Regions from separate parts of the Homo sapiens genome. Here region 2 is linked to region 1. The links are contacts of gene promoters, found by promoter capture Hi-C in human tissues and cell types (Jung and others, 2019). All regions are on one chromosome and are shown on one strand. The core of a region is centred on a gene start or on the middle of the fragment in contact, and the rest is flanking DNA. Distances in the headings are between cores, read along the strand shown.

Region 1 (3,271 bases), core at 772-3,271:
GGAGATTCTGTATTGGCAACTTATCCGGAATCTCAACCATAAAAATCTGGAGTGAAGCTACTTTAATCTCAGCATGTATACAGGCTCTGACATTTCAAAAAGAGAAGTTGCCTTGAAACTCCACGTAGGGAGGAGGCAGTGGCCTGTTTGAATCTGGCCGGCACAGTCCCGCTCCAGGGACCCTGCGGACCCAGCCCATTCCATCAGCCACCACCAGTAGGAGCGCTCCGCCAGCCACGTGTGGGACGCCGGACCCACCTGGGAGTGTCCCCCAGGAGCTGAGGGGCTGCCGAGGCCCGTGAGCTTCACTGCACACCCACACTGCATCTGCAGGGGACTCACCCAAAGGGTCCCCCGAACTCGACAAGCTCCGTCATTTGTGAGGCCCAGTGCAGAATGAAAATGTGCAGCATCTTGTTCCAAAATTAAGAATTTCAAGATGGCCCCAGCACGCATTAAACCAAGCAGGGACCCCTCTGAGCATGGGGCCCTGCGCACAGGGTGCAGCCTGGAAAGCTGGCCCTGACCTCCGCATCTCCTTTTTGTACCTATAATCCCTCCATTGTGCTGGCCCCTGTGTTCTGGGGACAGGCTGGGCTTCCCAGGCCATGCTGGCCTCCAGAGCCACAAAACTAGAGCTCCCAGCCTCGGTCCACTCGTCTGTAAAACACCTGGCCTGCTGACCTCACAGGGTCAACATGCGTGTGGGGCTGGAACCTGGACCCTCCCTCCCCTCCTTGAGCTGCAGCCCCCTCATCTGAACACTGGGGGTTTGGGTCCGTTCTGGGAGTGCAGCTGCCTCTCCCAGCCTGCCAGGGAGTGGGGCATTGATGCTGTGTGCGCGTGCGTGTGTGTGTGTGTGTGTGTGTGTGTGTGTGTGTGTGTGTGTGTGTGTCTGGAGTCATGGCAGGGTCCCTTTCTGTCTGTCTCCTTGCTCTGCCCCAGACTGGGGGGCTGCAGAGGTGAGGGTATCTGGCCTCAACAGCTGCTTATTCCCGATGGGATGGCCTGGGCTGGGCCCCTGAGGCCAGGCTGACTTGGACATGGCAAGAGGGGTCCCAGGCTCTTGTGGGCAAAGCAGGGGAGGCGCCAATGTGGAGGAACAGAGTCTCCTGGCTGGCTGCTGCTCTCTGGAGCGGGTGGAGTCAGGGAAGAGCTGAGCTGGGGAGTCACCCTGGGCCTGGGGTCACCGTAGGCCCCATGTAGCACCCTGGTTCCCCTGCCTGTAGGTGACAGGAGCCAGCCCAGCCAGGTGTGCTCCCTCCCCAGGCCCTAGGCAGGCGGGTACAGGGGCCAGCAGCTGCGCCCGCCCCACCTTCCTTCCCACCCACATGCCGAAGGGTGGCCAGGCAGGCAGGTGGACGAGTCCAGGCAGCGGCTGAGTCAGTGTGTGTGGAATGTTCTGGCCGCTCCCAGCTGCACCCTGCCCCTACCTGCCACCACCTCACCTTCATCCTCAGGCGCTGCGGCCCTGAGCCCCTGCCAGGAATGCACCTTTAGCCCAGGCCTGCTCAGTGAGCTCCGCCGACAGCCAGCCCTGCTCCTCCCGCCATGACCCTGCAGACCCCTCTGGGCTTCCAAGTTCCTGGGGGCTGCAGTGAACATGCTCCACCTGCATGGCTGGCAAACCATGGTGGGCCCCAGCTGTGGTGCGTGCTGGGGTAGAGGCAAGGAAGTGATGGGACCGCAGAGATGAGACCCCCAGGGATGAGATGGGACCCCCAGGCAGGGCCCAGGGTCCAGGGCCCAGGAGAGAGAAGCAGGGAGGGAGAGAGCTTCCTGGTGGAGGACGCATCCTACAGTGGGGGCAAGGGTGCTCTGAGGTCCGGTGAAGGCAGGGACTAGGCTGCCCAGGCCCTGCCTGCTTGGCTGGGGCTGGGGGCTGCTGGGAGGTGGCTGGGAGGCTGGGCCTGGGCAGCTAAGCTGGAGCTTTGGCCAGGGTCCAGAGCCTCCCTCCCTTCAGCTTCCTGCTGCACAGAACCCTCGCCCCTGGCCACCCCGTGCTGCCTCCTTGCCCTGGCAGACCCAGCACTGGCTGCTGCTAGTCAGATGGGGTAGCGGGCAGGGGCCGGAGGGGCCACCCTCCCAGCTGACCCAGCCTCCTGGGCCGCTTCTTCCAAACCAGCAGGGTAGAAAGATGGGGCACCCACCAGTCTCTCCCAGTGCCCCGGCCCCAGCTGGCACCACAGCTATACCTGGGCTTATTCCAGACCTTGTCGCCGGGACCCCCTGTGAGTTGTGGGATTCCCAAGAGGGGTGTGGGGATAACCCAGCCAAGTGGGGGCTGCAGCTGTCCACAGATGCACTCAGCCTGGCCTCTACCCCAGGGCCCCGCTGGGCTCTCATTGCCGGCGCCCTTGCCGCGGGCGTCCTCCTCGTCTCCTGCCTCCTCTGTGCTGCCTGCTGCTGCTGCCGCCGCCACAGGAAGAAGCCCAGGGACAAGGAGTCCGTGGGTCTGGGCAGTGCCCGCGGCACCACCACCACCCACCTGGTGAGGAGCGGCTCCTTGCTCACTCAGTCCAGAGAGGGCTTGAAATCCAGGCTCCAGAGCCCAGGGCAGCGAGGCGAGTTCAGCCCCAGGGATGGTTTAACCCCCACAGAGGCAGGGCGTTGAGGACCTTCCTGGCAGGGAAAGTGGGTGAACAGAGGTGAGAAGGAGGCCATGCAACAGGGGCTGCCCCATGGGCCCGAGGGAGCCACAGCGGGTTCTTGAGGAAGGCAGGGGGTACCCCAGATGCCACGTTTTGGGTGGGTTTGGCCGGTCTCACAGAGCGAAGCCGACGATTTGTGCCTGTTGGGTGGCCTGGCCTGGAGGCGGGGGGTCTTGACCCATGTCATGCAAGGGCTGCCCGGGAGCCCAGGGCTCTGATGAGGCATGATGTCAGCACCACCTGCCCCTTGTCCCAACTCACTCCAGGTGCAACCTGATGTGGATGGCCTGGAGTCCAGCCCGGGGGATGCTCAGCAATGGGGGTGCCTGCAGCTCTCCCTGGAGTTCGACTTTGGAAGCCAGGAGGTGAAGGGCCCCGCTGCGCAGGACCAGCGGTTCTGCGAGTTTCCGGAAAGGGTGACGGGGGAAGGGCAGACCCCATGCCCTGGGTGGTGGGGAGCTGACAGGGCAGGGGCCCTTGGCTGAGCCCACCCCGCTGGCTCCCAGATCAGGGTGGGCCTGAGGCAGGCAGCCGACCTGAGGCCTGGGGGCACCGTGGACCCCTATGCCCGGGTCAGCGTCTCCACCCAGGCCGGACACAGACATGAGACAAAAGTGCAC
Region 2 (7,308 bases), core at 2,678-5,177, 270 kb after region 1:
ACCCCCGCCTTGCCTGACAACAGTACCCGTCACCCGCTCTCAGCCGCAGCTCCAGCAGCTGCTCCCCTGCCCTCCCCGGCCAGCGGAGGAGACTGGAGTGGGCTACAAGGAAGGCAGGCCCCACACTCTTGGCCCTGCGCCCGAGTGCCCTTGCCAGGCCAAGTCAGACCACAGGACAGGCCACAGTGGTAGCAGGGCCTGGAGGACAGGCTGCCTGAGGCTGGCCTGGGTGGGGGCGGGGCAGAGTGGGGGCTGGGCTGTGTGTGCCAGGGGCCCTGCATCCTGTCCTCCTCTTTGGAGAAGCCCAGGCTCCTCCGGCCTCTCTTGCCTCTAAATCATCTGCTTTTCAGCCTCACTAATTCGTGCAGGGTTCCTTGGCTCATCCACACATTTATTGGGCACCTACTGACTGCACACCCTGCTGGGCTTCAGGTCCTGTGTGCCCCAGTAAGAACAGCTCAGTTCTGGCACAGATCTTAGGGGGCGCAAGGCAGAGCCGCCCCTGGGGCCTGCCCCGCCTAGGCCTGCAGACGTGTTTTCCTCAGCCCCACCGGAGCTCACTGCGAGGGTAGCTTTTCACCGAGCCAAGGTGGCCCCTGTGCCCAGACAGCCCAGATTACAGTGGGCATACGCTGGGGCAGACGCCGGCAGGGCCGCCTTGTTATCTCAGACGCTGACGTCACCTGTCTGCGGGAGGTGCAGGGGGGCCACTTCCCGGGGCCAGGCAGGAAGCCCGCCCAGTGCAGAGAGGGAGGTGCCCAGGCCCATCTCAAGCTTGCTGGGCCCAGGGGACCAGAGCCCCTGGGTTCCCTGATGCAACCAGGCCCCACTCTGCACCCCGGGGCCTCCTAGGCTGGCCTGGCCCTGCCCCTCCGTCTGCCCTTCCCCAGCCCAAAGCCCGCAGGACAAGTGGACAGCCCAGGCCGGTTGCAGTCCTGCATGCTCTGCTGAGCTCCCTGAGTCCAGGTTTTGGGGGGCAGTGGCTTTGGGCCAGGGTTCAGGGGTTTATTTCACAGGTCCTTCCAGGTGCCCCACAGTTGCTGAGTGGGAGACTGGCACTGGGGACTGGTGACAAGAGACCTCCCGGGCAGGCCCCTGGCACGGGCTGAAGGACGGAAGCTGGAGGCAGGGAGAAGCCAAGGGCATTGGGTTTGCAGACTCCATGGGGCAGGACAGGAGGGACTGGATGCCTGGGGAGGTTGGGGCAGGACTGTACCCAAGACAGGGGATCAAGCCTAGTACAGAGCCGAGCAGCGGGAGGGACCACCCTGCCAGGCCAAGGGAGGAAGACCCGGGGCCTCCAGACACAGTGTACCAGAGGAGAACCCTTCCCATCCAGCATGGCCAAGCGGGACCCGTGTGGCACTTGAAGCTGGGTCCCTGGACTCACCACCTTCCCTCACTGGACCCCTCGGCAGCCATGCAGGTGGGGCTCACTCCCCTTTCTACTCGCCACCCTGCAGAGGAAGCTTCTTCTCGGCCAGCTGGCCCACCTGTGCCCCTCCCTCAGGAACCCCACCTGGCCCACCCCACAGCTCCTGTGTGTTCCCAGGGGCATCTGATCCTTCAGCCTGGCCCCTCTTTCCTCTCCAGCCACCTGTGCTGCCATTCCAGTGACAGCCAGGCCAAACTCCCTGCTGGGTCCCCAAATGTCAGGGCGTCTCTCTCACCTCTGTTCCCTCCTCCTGGAATGCCCTTCCTGCTGCCTCATGGCACGCTTCTCTTGGGCCGTTTCACAGGTGTCGCTTGGGGCTTGAGGATTTCAACCTCATGGGTTTTTAGATTAGAGTTAGAAAGAGGGGAGACCTTCACCTGGAGGCAATGATTCAAAGACAGGCAGATTACTTCTCTCCATCGACCCGCACAACCATCTTGGCAGCCCATTTTACAGAGAAGCCTAGACCAAAGGAATGAGGTGTCTTTCAAAGGCCACACAGAGCCAGGAGAGACTCTTCCCCACACTGACGTCCACTGGGACCCCAGCCTTAGTGCTCCCTGTGTGTGTCTGTCACTGTCATTGTGGAAAATAAAAGGTCCTGAAAGGACAGTCTCAGGTCCTGGTCCTGGTCTTAGATGTGACTTATGATGACTTCAAATCCATAAGACACAGATGCAGTGGGTAAATTGAGGCAGCCTCTTGTTTCTTAGCCAAAGAACTTGTTCAAGAAGTTTTCTTAGCAATGGGCTTCCAATTATCAAACCTGGATGATATAGAATTGTGGTGGAAAGGGTGGTAGATAGGTGGGTGGATAGATGGGTGGGTGAATTGATGGATGGATGGGTGAGCGGATGGATGGATGGATGGATGGATGGATAAATGGATGGATGGATGGATGATCGATGGATGGGTAGGTGGGTGAATGGATGGAGGTTGGAATGGATGGATGGATGGATGAGTGAATATGTAGGTGAGTGGAAGGATGTGTGGGATGGATGGGTGGATGAGTGGATGGGAAGGTGGTGTGTGAATGGATGAATGGATGGTTGAGATGGATGGATGATTAGGATGGATGGATGGATGGACGGATGAAAGGATGAGTGGGTAGAGGAAAGGATGAATGGATGGGTGAGTGGGGGATGTGGAGACATGAGGATGAATGTAGACGTATGAATAAGTAGGTGGATGAATGAAGAGCAGGTGGGTAGATGGAAGGGTGGATGAACAGTTGGATGGAGGAATGAATGGATCCTCAAATAGCACTTTCTTTGGCTAAGGTGTTGTAACCTTGAATCATGGAGAATGATTGCCAGGCACCCTCCACTCTGTGAGTCTCTGGTTCTCTGCCATGACCCCCAGGGCCATAGAGCAGTGTGGCTTCTCAATCCCCAAATAAGGTGGACAAAGTCCGCACTGGCAGGCCCAGGGAGCAGGAAGTCCGGGTGGGGTGGGAGGCCCTGCTCCCGGAGCTGAAGTCAGTTCCTTCTTTTCTAAACAATGAGGCCTGGCCTGATCTTTGCCGCACCTCCACCCTGCTCCACCCAAGCTCCCTCCACATCTGATGGGGCTCTGGGGCCCTCAGAGCTGGATGCAGGGAGCTGGGGGCTGGAGCAGGAGGGCCAAAAAGAGCAGGACCCACATAGTTTGCAAAAGGCTCAGTCGTGGAAATGCTGCCTTCCCTGCAGCCAAGGCTCCTGGAGCCAGTTTCCCCCAAGCTTCTTTCTGTAGGGAGATAGGAGCTGGGGGTTTGTTGGCCAAGACATGACTTTGGTTTCTTGTTTTCGTCTTTCTTCTTCAAGTCCATAGTTGGAAGGCCCTGCATCCCCTTCTCTCTCCTGTGTCCTCTTCCTTATGGTCATCCTGCTCTGTCCCCCCACTTCCCTTTCCTTGCCCCTCTCTCTGACCCACCATGGCCAGTCTGGCAGAGGAGGAGACTGGAAGAGTAGAGTAGGAAGGAAAACCAAGTCTGCCCTTGCCAGGGCACGGAGGACCAGACTTTCCAACCCAACCGTGGCTCCCAGTTTCAGTGACCAAGCTGGGGCTCTTAGGCCTAAGCAGGGGCTCTCCTCTGCTCCAGCTCTGTCTCCTGCATTGGCAGGAGAGAGCCTCTCCCACAGAGCTGTCCCTGGAACAGAAGGACAAGCTGAAAACCAGAGAATCTCCCCCTCTCGTGCTAAGGGTAGCCAGAGTGTTCCACGGCCCTGGAGACACCATCCACCACCCTCCCAGTGGGCTTCCTGGAAACCCAGAGATGGCTCCAGGGGCTCTGCCCTCCTGGGAAGCCACTTAGAGCCCAAAGAGCGCTTTCCACATGGAAATAAGGGGTCTCTTCTGAGGGTAGGGGTGCTGCAGTACAGAGCAGGGGCAGGGCCGGGAACTGGGGACACAGGCCTGTGTGGACTCAAAATGAACGAGGGCCGTCCTGTGCGTGCTCCACTCCAAATCCCATCTGCTCCCACACTGCTGGCCCAGGGAAAATCTGGGTAGTGACAGTGGCCGTCCCTCACGCCCTCCATGGCCAGGTGCCAGTAGCGTGTTCCACAAGCATCACCTTCGAAACCCTGAAGGAGTCAGGACTGTCGCTGTTCCAGACAAGGAGACTGAGGATGAGTCTCCATTAAGTGGCTTTCCCGCAGACACACAGTAAGTGGCACAAGAGTCAGGAGTTTGAGCCCGGGTCAGCCCAGCTCCAGCCATGGTCGCAGGGGCTGCCTGCAACCCCTGACGAGGGGCACCCCGGGGAGGCCTGGACCCAGCACCTGCAGCCCAACCTGGGCAGAGGCTGATCCAGCAGCTAGGAAGGGCATGGGTCCAGGAGATGGCAGAGCAGGGAACAGAGCGCTGCCGCTCAGGGTACTCCCGGGGAGCTGTGGTTCTCAGTGGAGGCCGCTCCCACACTGACACTCAGGCACCCTTTCACCTGCTGATGCCCAGACACTGCTGAGGCCAACACAACAGACCCACAGCCTGGGTCAGCACGGACAAGGGTGCTTCCTGGCTCCTCCTGACCATTGCTGAATGAATGATGGGTGAATGAATGAATTAACAAATGATGGCTGACTGATGAAAAGCAAGAACACAGATGGAACCAGAGCTTCTGGGGCGCGGAGGCAGGGGCACAACCCCCTCCCGTGCCGGAGTGCGCACACACACACACAGGGGTACACACATGCACGCACAGACACACATGCATACACACACATGCCCACACATGCAAACACACATTCATATACACACACGCCCACACACACAAACACACATTCATATACACACATGCCCACACATGCAAACACACATTCATATACACACGCACGCCCACACATGCAAACACACATTCATATACACACACGCGCAGCAGGCCTCCTTGGTCAAGGCCTCCAGAGCTTTGTCCTTCCTCACGGTTCCAGTGGCCCAGAAGACTCACCATGTTGCCTTGCCCCAGCCCAGGGCCCCAAGTGAGTGTATCAGGATCCCTGAGCCCGCCCCGAAATCCCCAGGTTTCCACCGCTCCCAGCAGGAAGCCGTGCTTCATGCATGAGGCCTCCCTCACCTGTTAATTTCCGCTGATCCTGCCAACCCCCAGGTGAGGGCAGCCATGGGGACCCCAGTGGCCCAGAGCTGGGCCCAGGAAAGGGACCAAAGGCCCAGGGGGCCTTGCTCCTGGAGCCAACTCCACTCAATGCCAGGGCACAGAGGGAAACCAGGCACTGTGGCCAGGCCCCTGGGAAGGGTCATGGGTGCATGCTCAGCAACCCTCGGCCATCATGTGGCTGCAGGCCCAGCCTGTTGCTAGGATTAGTCCCGGATTAGCCCACTGAGGTCCCAGAGGCTCGAGTGTCCTGGTCACCAGTGCTATAGAAACCTGGCCAGAGGCAGGGGGTGGAGACTGGTTCCTCCTTGGTGGGCTCTTCCCTCCAGGCCCAGTCTGAGCCTTACCCTTTCCTGAGCCAGCTCTGGAGTGCCTGGGGCCTGAGCTCCCACCCCCAGCCCTGCGGGAGCCCTTCTCCACAGAGCTCTGCACCTAGGGAAGTTGTAGCTTTCCAGAATCAGCTGTTTTCCAGATCCCGGAATGAAAACGGATGACCGATCATGTTGTGCCTGATGTGGAAAAGCGAAGCGTTTGTTCTCTCCCTTCTCAGATGCTCCTTAATACAGAAAACGTCAGAGCTGGTTCACCCTGCTGCCCCAGGAGCACCCTGGAGCTTCCCTCCCCAGGCCCAGCCCAAGCACCGCCTCCTGAGAACTCTCCTCCCCTCACTGACCCCTGTCCCATCTGTCTCTGCCCTGAAGGAACACCAAGTTGGGGCTGTGGGGCTGGGACCAGGCCTCGGAGCCAGGTAGCAGCCCATTGGGGGACAGCTCAAGAGGCTCCGAGAGCTCCCTGTGACATCTGAGAGGCCAGCAGGACGAAGGCCACAGCCAGCAGCCAGGACCTGACCACTTGCCCAGGCTGGTCTGAGCTCCTGGCCAGGGGCCTCTTGGCAACATGACCTGGCAGGTGCTGTCTGTCCATTATTCCCCTCTCACGGATGTCCCCGGCCTCTGTGGACATGACCGCCTAGCCCTGAAACTCCAAATGTACCTTTCTGCCTCTCCTCTTCTCTGTCAGGTGATGCCATCCTTCCCAGGGGCCTTCTGGGCTCTTCACTCCTCTAGGCCCTCAGCAAAGGCTCTCACTCTGCCCTCAGCACACACCAGGGTGCAACCACCCTCACTCCTCCACCAGTCCCTCCCAGTCACTCCCTTCTGTGTGTATCCCAGCAGGTGCCTCCACTTCTCCTCTTGCACTCTGGTCACTCAGCAGCCACAGGATCCCTTCACTCCTAAGCAGAGACCTCCACTAGCCCCACTTCTCTCCAAGAAAAAGCTGCATCCCCTTCAGGGCTTCCTGATGCCTTCCTGGGCAAGCTCCCCTTGGTTTCTCAGGTGTGTTTCTCAACAACCCATGCTTCCTCCCTATCCACCACTCCTCAGAGACGCCACATCACCTCTCTACAAGCCTTGTACCCGCTGCTCCTGCCATGAGATGCTCTCCCCCAGATGTCCATGTGAGTATGTGGTGGGGGCTAGAAAGGTATGTAGATGGGTAAATGGTTGGCTGGGTAGATGGCTGGATGCGTGGGTGGATGCATGGATCCATGGAAGGAAGGAAGGAAGGAAGGAAGAGAGGGAGGGAGGGCAAGAGGAAAGAAGGAAGGAAGGAAGGAAAGAAGGAAGGAAGAGAAGAAGGGAGGGAGGGAGGATGAATGGGTGCACAGATGGGTGCATGGATGGGTGCATGGATGGGTGCATGGATGGGTGGATGAACAGATGGATGGATGAACAGATGGATGGATGGATAAGTGGATGCATGGATTCATGGAAGTAAGGAAGGAAGGAAGGAAGGAAGGAAGGAAGGAAAGGAAGATGGATGGATGCATGGATGGGTGCATGGATGGATGGATGGATGCATGCATGGATGGAAGGAAGGATGGATGGGTGGATGGATACATGAACAAATGAGTGGGTGGATGGATGGATGGATGAATGGGTGGGTGGATGCATGGATGGGTGGATGCATGGATGGATGGAAGATAGATATATGGATAAATAAGTGGGTGTATGAATAGGTGGGTGAATGGACGGATGAATAGATGCATAGATGGGTGGATGCATGGATGGATGGATGGATAGATAGATAGATACATGGGTGAATGAGTGGATGTATGAATGAGTGGGTGAATGGATGGATGAATAGATGCATAGAGGGGTGGATACATGGATGGGTGGATAGATAGATAAATACATGGATGAATGAGTGGGTGTATGAATGGGTGGATGCATGCATGGATGGATGGATAGATGGATGGATAAATGGATACATGTAGGAG

What was found. The method cuts DNA at HindIII sites, captures the fragments that hold promoters and counts their contacts. A contact is called where the count stands out against the background at its distance.
Region 2: a fragment that was not itself captured here is called in contact with the fragment with the promoter of SYT8 in region 1 in 2 of the 25 tissues and cell types used here (H1 embryonic stem cells and lymphoblastoid cells).

The regions. Positions count from the first base shown.
Region 1 is chr11:1,832,969-1,836,239 of GRCh38, forward strand. SYT8 (synaptotagmin 8) reads left to right here and starts at 2,022. Exons shown (of 8, transcript NM_001394072.1): 1 at 2,022-2,231; 2 at 2,328-2,491; 3 at 2,918-3,016; 4 at 3,158-3,271. The coding sequence starts at 2,138. RefSeq lists enhancers at 1-598, 599-1,212. The HindIII fragment of the contact is 28,273 bases long and covers 1-3,271 here.
Region 2 is chr11:2,099,893-2,107,200 of GRCh38, forward strand. No RefSeq gene overlaps it. Among named protein-coding and RNA genes, the nearest start is that of MIR483, 31 kb to the right of the region's middle. RefSeq lists enhancers at 1-581, 582-1,223. The HindIII fragment of the contact is 7,700 bases long and covers 78-7,308 here.